2 separate regions of the Homo sapiens genome follow, and region 2 is linked to region 1. Evidence: promoter capture Hi-C in 16 types of primary human blood cells and fetal thymus (Javierre and others, 2016). All regions are on one chromosome and are shown on one strand. The core of a region is centred on a gene start or on the middle of the fragment in contact, and the rest is flanking DNA. Distances in the headings are between cores, read along the strand shown.

The links. The method cuts DNA at HindIII sites, captures the fragments that hold promoters and counts their contacts. A CHiCAGO score of 5 or more calls a contact.
Region 2: a fragment that was not itself captured here is called in contact with the fragment with the promoter of HTR1E in region 1 in 2 of 17 cell types (endothelial precursors and erythroblasts); the score reaches 8.0 in endothelial precursors.

Annotation. Positions count from the first base shown.
Region 1 is chr6:86,934,495-86,939,200 of GRCh38, reverse strand. It overlaps HTR1E (5-hydroxytryptamine receptor 1E), which reads right to left and starts at 1,673. Exons shown (of 2, transcript NM_000865.3): 1 at 1,378-1,673. RefSeq lists enhancers at 779-1,333, 1,334-1,889. The HindIII fragment of the contact is 4,175 bases long and covers 1-2,594 here.
Region 2 is chr6:85,946,972-85,951,183 of GRCh38, reverse strand. LOC101928842 (a long non-coding RNA gene) reads right to left here. Exons shown (of 9, transcript XR_002956361.1): 5 at 1,390-1,526; 6 at 1,092-1,233. Among named protein-coding and RNA genes, the nearest start is that of SNHG5, 270 kb to the right of the region's middle. The HindIII fragment of the contact is 1,562 bases long and covers 1,461-3,022 here.

The DNA of each region.
Region 1 (4,706 bases), core at 424-2,923:
GAGGCAGGCATATTTTGTGCATTTGTTAAATGGGCCTCAAATGCCTCCATTCATTTATTTGTTGAAGACAGGGTCATCTCATTTAATTCAGCAGGAAAGCAACTGTACCAGAAAGAGAAAAGCTGTCTCAATCTTCTCTGTATTTCAAAGGTATTTCACATATGCTCCTCATGAAGGAGACCGCACAGGGAATCAGACCCACGTGCCTGCTTTGCCTCTCTTGCGCAGGATTAAGTAAGGGAAGCCCCTGATTCACAAGTGCATCCTGGCTGTTTAAGGTTATGCATATTGTGTCTGAATGTACAACTATGATAAATATATATTCTGGAGCAATGTTAAATTCAGCTTAGGACGATGTACTGCTTAGAGCTTTGAGGGAAAACATAAGAATGATAAAATGAGCCTAAATTATTTTGGAAAAAACACTGCTCCCCCAACCCATTTGACGATCTATTATTTCCTCCTGGGCTGCTCCCTCCCCAAGAGATTTGGTGCAGGAGGCAAGGAAGGACAATAAGAAAGGTTAGGAAGAAACACCTTGGGATGCTGACACCATCTGCCTTATCCTTCTAACTCAAGGACAAGCAGCGTTGGGTTGAATACAAGGTCCTTTCTTCCAAAACTGGGCACAGGCAGAAATATACATATAGATGCAAAACCACTATGATCCTGTGATAGGAGCTGGAATCACTTCCCTTTAGACTCAATTTCCTTTCCTTTTCGTTAGGTAGGGGGTCAGCCTCTCACCTTGCAGTATTGGGTGGAGATGGCTTAAGACCAAACTTCTCATCTTAACTCTTACTTCCAAGATTTATTTTGTATTTTAAAAAAAATGAGCCTGCCTCATTACCTCCACACCTGGGCATTTTGTTTATCAGGACTGAGCACAGTATTATTTTCTGAGGGCTGGAGCAACAGTGCAGTCCTTTCTAATCAAAGGTTTTTTAATCAGCTGGCTTTGAAATCACACAGTTCTTCCGGGGTCCCTGGAGCACACCACCTCCCTGTGATTTCTACTCAAGTTTTCCCTGGCCCCCCCCAGCACCCGTTCCATACCTATTTAATCTTTAAGCTGCCTCTAATCCTTTTGCAAGGAAGCAGGATGAAATGCTCAAACCACAGTTATACACAATGTTGATTCTCAGGTTCACACATTTGAGGAATTGTTTGAACAAGAAATGCTCTCTGTACTATAATCCAGGGTGCAGGCACGGTGCCCGGGCGACCCTCAGTCTCCCTCCGACACCCCGCATCCCAACTCCCGCCGCCTTTGCGCCTCAAAGCTGGCAAACATCCCCAAGCCAGAGCTGGAGTACCTGGAGTGGGTGGGGGTAAGAAGGGAAGCCAAGGTCGTCCCGGAAGGTGTGCGCCCCTCACCTTGTGGACGGTGCGTGCAGCCGCGCCGCACTGGGCAAACCGGCACGTCCAGCTGGCTCCAGAAGTCTCACTCGGAACCCGCTCCTTTTTCTCCTGAGCTGGATCAGAGCACTGCTTCTCTCAACATTCGATTCTGGAGTACGTTGAGCCCAGGGCGTTCTCCCCGCCAGCGTCCTTGCCCGCGCCAGTGCCCGCCGGGGTGCGGCGAGACAGAACCTGGGAGCGCGGCGCGCCGGGCAGCCCGAGGCACCGCTGGTGGCAGGCGCTGCGCTTCGCCGAGTCTGGGCGCCTGGACTGGAAGAGGAGGCGAGAGGGAGAGAGCGGGGAAGAGGAGGAGGAGGAGCAGGAGCAGGAGCATGGGCAGGGGCAGTCTGCTAAATCATCTACGCAGGTCGCAGCCTCCCGGGACACCGTGAACGGAGAGGGGGGTGGTGGGTGTGGGATGAAAAGATGAGCCCGGGTGTGAGGCAGGTGGTATTGTGAACTGGAGGTCGCAGCTCCGAGGTACTCCAGGTCTTGCTTAGGTTATAAAAGAGAAATTCTGGAGCTGATGGCGCCTTAGGGCTCCCGGTTGCAGACACTAGAGGGCAGGGCTGTCCATGTTATAAACCGGGCCAGCGGGGTTGGAGGTGTGGGCAAGGGACTCACCTCCTGAGCCCCTTGCCGGCCACAGCCCTGGCGGAGAAGGGGAAAATAGATACAACAAGGGGGCAGACCCTACTCCCTTCTTCTGTAGCGAGCCTGGGTTGAGGAGGGAGAGGAACGGCGGGAGCAGTTGACGGGTTTGCACGCTTTCTCTACGCGGTTCCAATGGCAAACAGACCCTCTGGAGGTGCATTTCTTAGCCCTCCTCCAGGGGAGATTACAGTCAACATCCACAGGATGCCTCAAGGAGAGAGATTACAAGGAAGGGGTGAGGGAGAAGTGGACGAAAATTGGGGTGGGTCAAAGTGGAAGGGGGGAAGAGAGGTGGGGAAAGCAGTGAAGAAAAGGAGACGGAGAGTGGAGTGGTTGGGGCTGAAAGACCTGCTGAAGCAGCCTTGCCATTTTTTTTTTTTTTGAGGGAAGTCTACCTGGGCGCCATCTCAGGTTGTCAGAGGGCTTTGTGCTCTTCTGAGGGTGCCAGGGGCTGTTCTTTTTGTTGTTCTGCTGCCGCAAGGTCAGAAAAGTTAAGCTGGGAGGGACTTTGCAGAATCCTGGCATTGCTAAAAGAAGCTTCCTTACGGCTGGTTGGTTATTCTCTGTGGAGAACTTGGGTGACTCAACATTGAAGCCTAACATGGATTGAGCCCCTGCCATTGTAAAAAAGAAAATCAGATTGTTCAAACTAGCCATAAAATGAACTAGACAATCTTATGGAGACAGTATGATCTGTAGACAGCCTGATACACAAACCTTAGAGTTGAAAGGACCTTGGAAACCATGTAGGCAACTTGGGTAGCTGCCCCAAACACCTGCCTCACACTTTTCTTTCTGGTTTGTAGCCTTATGGCTGATTTGAAAAACACTTTAAGTTATTTATTTATTTTTTGAAGTTTGACAATTCTAAACCAAATGAAACCCTTCTTCAGTTCAAAAAGCGAGCCTGTGTGCCCTTCTCCTGCCTTCTAGAGCGCCTCTCAAGGCCAGCAGGGGTTGACTGATGGATTATCAGGGGAATTTCACTGAACAAGAGAAAGGAAGGTTGGTAAACTATAGTCTTAAATTGTGATTTGCTTCTGTTAATCCCATTAAACTGAGAATAGGCTTAAGTAGACTGAAGTCTAACAGGAGGATGAGGTGGAAATATGTTTTCCTACTAAAGATGACACATCTTGAAGTTTGTTTGATGATAAAGGTGTTATGTAAAAATAAGCAGAACAAGAATCATTCCTCATTTTAAAAAAGAATCTTATAGGACTGAAGATATTTTAGATATCCCAAGAGAGTAAGTAAGGACATTGTTCTACTCTTGCAAGTTTGGAGTTCCTCCAAAATATAAAGGAAATATGAGTTTGTTAAATTGCTTTATTTAAAATTGATTTACCTATTTTTTGGTTATTACAACATAAGGAACTATGGAAACAAATATTATACACTTGGAAACTTTCCTGAACATACCTCAGAATACCCGCTTTTTGGCAGATGTTCAGCTTTATGAAGTGTCTGATTATTTTCAAGCTATTAATTAACTTCTGGCATATATTCTACCAGTTTTAATAAAATCAATGCTCTCTTAATCAAGAGCTGCTAATTCAATTTGTATTACCCATTTGAGTTTCCAGTGGCCTCTATGAGTGCTTTAAGATTGCAGGTATATGTAAATCACATCCCCATTTCATAATAGAGAATTCCTTGTCAGTTAGAAAAACTATAAGGATTGCCTGGAGCCCTGGGCATCTGGCATAAAAAAGTCATCAACTTGCAGCGGGAACTCAAAAGTCACTATGAAGAAATTAACTTATCAAATCCACTCATTCATTAATTCAAAAAATGTTGGTAAATATCTACCACGTTTGAGGCATGGGGCAACTTCTAGGACTAAAATAATGAAGGAACAGTTTATTCTCTCAGTGGGAAGACTAATTCCCAAACTAGTAAATCCATTCCAGAGTAACAGTTTGGAGAAGGGGTAAGTACAGGATGTTATGGGAGCACAGAGGAGGGCAATCTAATCCAGGTTTTAGGACCAGGGAGTAATTTCTGGAAGTGGTACTGACAGTGGTGATGTGTATAGATGGTGGGGTGGTTGATAGTGGTTGGGAGAGGGAAAAATCATGAACAATGGATTCCCTCTATCTCCAAGACAATCCTAATTACATTTGTTAATTTTTCACTTGGATGCTGGAACTTCACATTAATAGATGAGGAAGCAAGCATGCACATGGTACATTTTTCTGCTAGAAGTAAGACTACAAGTTTTGTGAGGCAGGAGCTGTTTATAACTTGTTCATCACACGATTACAGAGAAGAATCAAGATTCTGGTTGACATTGTCTGTCATTTCCTACCTCCACCACGGAAGTGGGAATGAAACATGAAGGGAAGGCATTATGGTGGCGAGGGAGCTCACATTTCTGAGCTCACACCATCCTAGGTGCTCTCCATACATGATTCCACTAAACAATTTCAACAACCCTGTGACATGGTTCTCTCATTTTACTGTTGATTTCAAAGACTGAGCTTCAAATTGCATTTTATGTCTGTGGTGTGACAGAGGCTAGAGGGAGAGAATGAAATGTTTATAGGTAGGTTTCAACATTTGTCAGCTTTCAGGAAGTTATGCTATAGTAACCAAGCATAACCCCCAAATCTCAGTGGCTTGCTATGGTAGAAGTTAGTGGCTTGCTA
Region 2 (4,212 bases), core at 992-3,491, 990 kb after region 1:
AGATCCCATTTGTCAATTTTGGCTTTTTTTGTCATTGCTTTTGGTGTTTTAATCATGAAGTCTTTCCCCATGCCTATGTCCTGAATGTTATTGCCTAGGTTGTCTTCTAAGGTTTTTAGGATTTTAGGTCTTCCATTTAAGTCTTTAATCCATCTTGAGTTAATTTTTGTATAAGGTGTATGGAAGGATTCCAGTTTCAGTTTTCTGCATGTGGCTAGCCAGTTTTCCCAACACCATTTATTAAATATGGAATCCTTTCCCCATTGCTTGTTTTTGTCAGGTTTGTCAAAGATCAGATGGTTGTAGACGTGTAGTGTTATTATTGAGGCCTCTGTTCTGTTTCATTAGTCTATATATCTGTTTTGGTACCAGTACCATGCTGTTTTGGTTACTATAGCCTTGTAGTATAGTTTGAAGTCAGGTAGCATGATGCCTCCAGCTTTGCTCTTTTTGCTTAGGATTGTCTTGGCTACATGGGCACTTTTTTTGTTCTATATGAAATTTGAAGTAGTTTTTCTAATTCTCTGAAGAAAGTCAATGGTAGCTTAATGGGGATAGCATTGCATCTATAAATTACTTTGCGCAGCATGGCCATTTTCACAATATTGGTTCTTCCAATCCATGAGCATGGAATATTTTTCCATTTGTTTGTGTCGTCTTGTATTTTCTTGAGCAGTGGTTTCTAGTTCTCCTTAAAGAGGCCCTTCACATCCCTTGTAAGTTGTATTCCTAGGTATTTTATTCCCTTTGTAGCAATTGTGAATGGGAGTTCACTCATGATTTGTCTCTCTGTCTATTATTGATATATAGGAATGTTTGTGATTTTTGCACATCAATTTTGTATCCTGAGACTTTGCTGAAGTTGTTTATCCGCTTAAGGAGATTTTGGGCTGAGACGATGGGGTTTTCTAAATATATAATCATGTCATCTGCAAAGAGAGACAATTTGACTTCCCATATGAGGAATTATTCTTATCCCCAACCTAAATTTTTTAAACTGATGCTCTGAGAGTTTTAGAAGATTACCCTAGCTTACACAACTACAAAGTAACAGAATAAGCTTAAAATAAATAAATAACTTTTCTGCTCACCTCATTTTTCAACTATTCATCTTCATTGTTCTGTTCTTCCAGGGAAAATTTCTGTGTCCCACAGCTTAAGTCCAGTGGACAAGTTGACTAAGGGAACTGTTTCAACCAAGTGATCCAAAGTAAGGTAGCCAAAGACCAGGTCCTGGAGAAATAGAAACACGGCCCAAAAAAATGCTGCCAAACATAGCATTTCAAGAGACAGAAGAGAACAAAAATGGGAAGATTGGCATGAAAGTTAGTAGGACAAAAGAAGGTGCAAAGAGGAGATCACAGAGGCCAATGAGTGCCTAGAGCTCACCATTTATGCAGCACCTGGAGGAGAGCAGCTAGACTTGAGAGGTCTGGTTTTCAGTTTGGGAAGATAAAGCTTTTAAAGTCCTGTATAGTCCTGAACATGATTTCCAAGTTTTTCTTAGAATTCTGATATCCTGTAGACTTAGATTAAAAGAATATAGATTTGTAGAGAAGAGTTTAAACATTAATTATATTATTTCATGTGCCTAATTTTGAGATGGAATAAGAAAAAAACACACATATAAAATATAAAGTTCTCCAGTTTATTTAATGGAATGAGATTTGGGGCAGAATTTCATAATTGGAGTATCCAACATATTACTCTTATCTGCCTTTGAAGATCTGGGTAGAACAAGTTTAATATAGACTCTGCATCTCTTTTCAGCCTCTACTTTTATCAGTAGCATTTTAACTTTCACTATGTTTCACATTCAAATTCCTGAGAGAGAGCATTTCCTAGGCTCAGTTGATCACCATCATCTTTGCTGGATAGAACTCTGGGTTTGACCACCTCAAGGTCCACTGCTCAGGCCATCCATGGACTTGCCTTGGATCAGATGCCTGTTCTTCCTGCATCCTATGGCAAGGTGTTTGTGCTATGTTGTGTAGATCATGGCCACTTATTCATTTTTGAAGATGATTTATAGATGAAGGGTTGTTCTACTAGGCAAAAGTTTTTCTATCTATCAAGTTATTCCCTTAAAGGTCTCTATTTTCCTCAAAATTTTTAAGTATGTTTTGTAAGTATAATTCCTTCCTTCTGATGAAGGTGGAATGCCTTATTTAAACTTGAAAATAATTAAACTCTATGATTTGAAAATTCATTCATACTAACATGCTGAGGGTAAGGTCAACATGAATTTATAAACAAACTTCCTTTAGGTTGCTTTGTAGTTGTTTGAGTATAATTTTAAAAGTCTAGTTCTTCATGTATGTGTTTTTCATAGTTACCCAACTGAAAAATCCTTGAAGGCAAGAACCATAGTTTATTACTTTTTATCCCTGACAACATCTAAGATGCTGTGCTCGTCAAGCGTGTTAAATGTTGCTGAGTGACTGAGCCTACGGATCTCTAGGAGTTATTGAATAGTTGACTTTAACTGCTTTGTTAGCTGTCTGTATCCACAGAAATTTGAGATCAGCTGTTTGGAATAATGCACACAAAAGCCTTCTGTTCTGTAATGTCAGTAAAAGATATTTAAATTAGAGCAATGGAGTCCTAAATGTGAACCATAAAGGAAATTATTTCCACTCTATGTGAGAAGAACTGGATGCTCCTTATTTCTTTGCAAACTAATAAAATTCTCATTAATAGGCCAATAGCATGTAATTGAAATTTTCTAGGCCCAGAGCAAATTTTGTTTAAAGTGACCCAACTGTTTCTTAAGGTTCCAAAGCAAAGGGAAAAGTCAAGCAGGCAAGGATTTTTTTTTTCATGTCAGGGCTTCCTCCTTTAAATGAATCTTGCCCATCTTTGAGATTTTGTTTTTAAGAAACATGCCAGCCCAGTAGAAAGTTATTTTAGGCATTTAGCAAACCCACCAATCTAGGTGACTGTGAATAGTAAAATAAACTTGGTTTACTGCAGTGGCTCTCTTGGGCCTTAGCAGCAAGTACATATGCCTTGTAATCAAGCTTTATATACCATTAAGAGTAATCTGAAACTTGGTATACATAACATTTTAACTGCAAAGTCACATAAATTTTTAAAAAACACTCCATTTGCTTTAGGTAAAATCTTTGCTTGGAGACTCCCTCCCTCTTTTGTTTTTTTCTTTTCTTCTTCTTCTTTTTTTTTTTTTTTTGAGACGGAGTTTTGCTCTCGTTGCCCAGGCTGGAGTGCAATGGTACGATCTCAGCTCACCACAGCCTCCGCCTCCTGGGTTCAAGCGTTTCTCCTGCCTCAGCCTCCCGAGCACCCAGGATTACAGGTATGCACCACCATGCCCGGCTAATTTTGTATTTTTAGTACAGACGGGGTTTCTCCATGTTGGTCAGGCTGGTCTCGAACTCCCAACCTCAGGTGATCCACCCGCCTCGGCCTCCCAAAGTGCTGGGATTACAGGCATGAACCACCAAACCCGGCCTTCTTTTTTTTTTTTTTTGAGTCAGACTATTTCTCTGTCGCCAGGCTGGAGTGCAGTGGTGCAATCTTGGCTCACTGCAACCTCTGCCTCCTGGGTTCAAGCAATTCTCCTGCCTCAGCCTCCTGAGTAGCTGGGGCTATAGGCACGCACCACCAAGCCCAGCTAACTTTTGTATTTTTAGTAGAGACGGGTTTCACCATGTTGGACAGGATGGTCTCAATCTCTTGACCTCATGATCTGCCCGCCTCAGCCTCCCAAAGTGCTTGGATTACAGGCATGAGCCACTGAGCACGGTAAACTCCCACCGTCTTAAAGAGCTGTAGAGATTTTTAGTTTTCTCTCTTACTGAAGAGATTAATAATAGGTTTCTTCATTGTCACCAGAAAAAAAAAAATCTCATTTGTCTTTAACCTCAATATATCAGGGTTATCTCAATATTACAATCAGCAAATAACATGAGTTTTTGTTTTTCAATGTGGAATCAGTTCTCGCATGCAAAAGTTGGATAACAAATTAGATTTTTCTTTTAATCTGCCACATTGGGAAGGGTCTTCTTGCCAAAAATCTTCAGCTCGGAAGTCATGACCTCTCCTCACTACTCTTTATAACTCCACTCACAAACAAATACAAAAGGAAGAAAAATTATACATAATATATAAAGGTACAAACTACAACCCTATGCAGGAAGCTACCTGTTGAAGCATTTTTAACTCTTCCCCAATTGTAATATGCCATGCCTC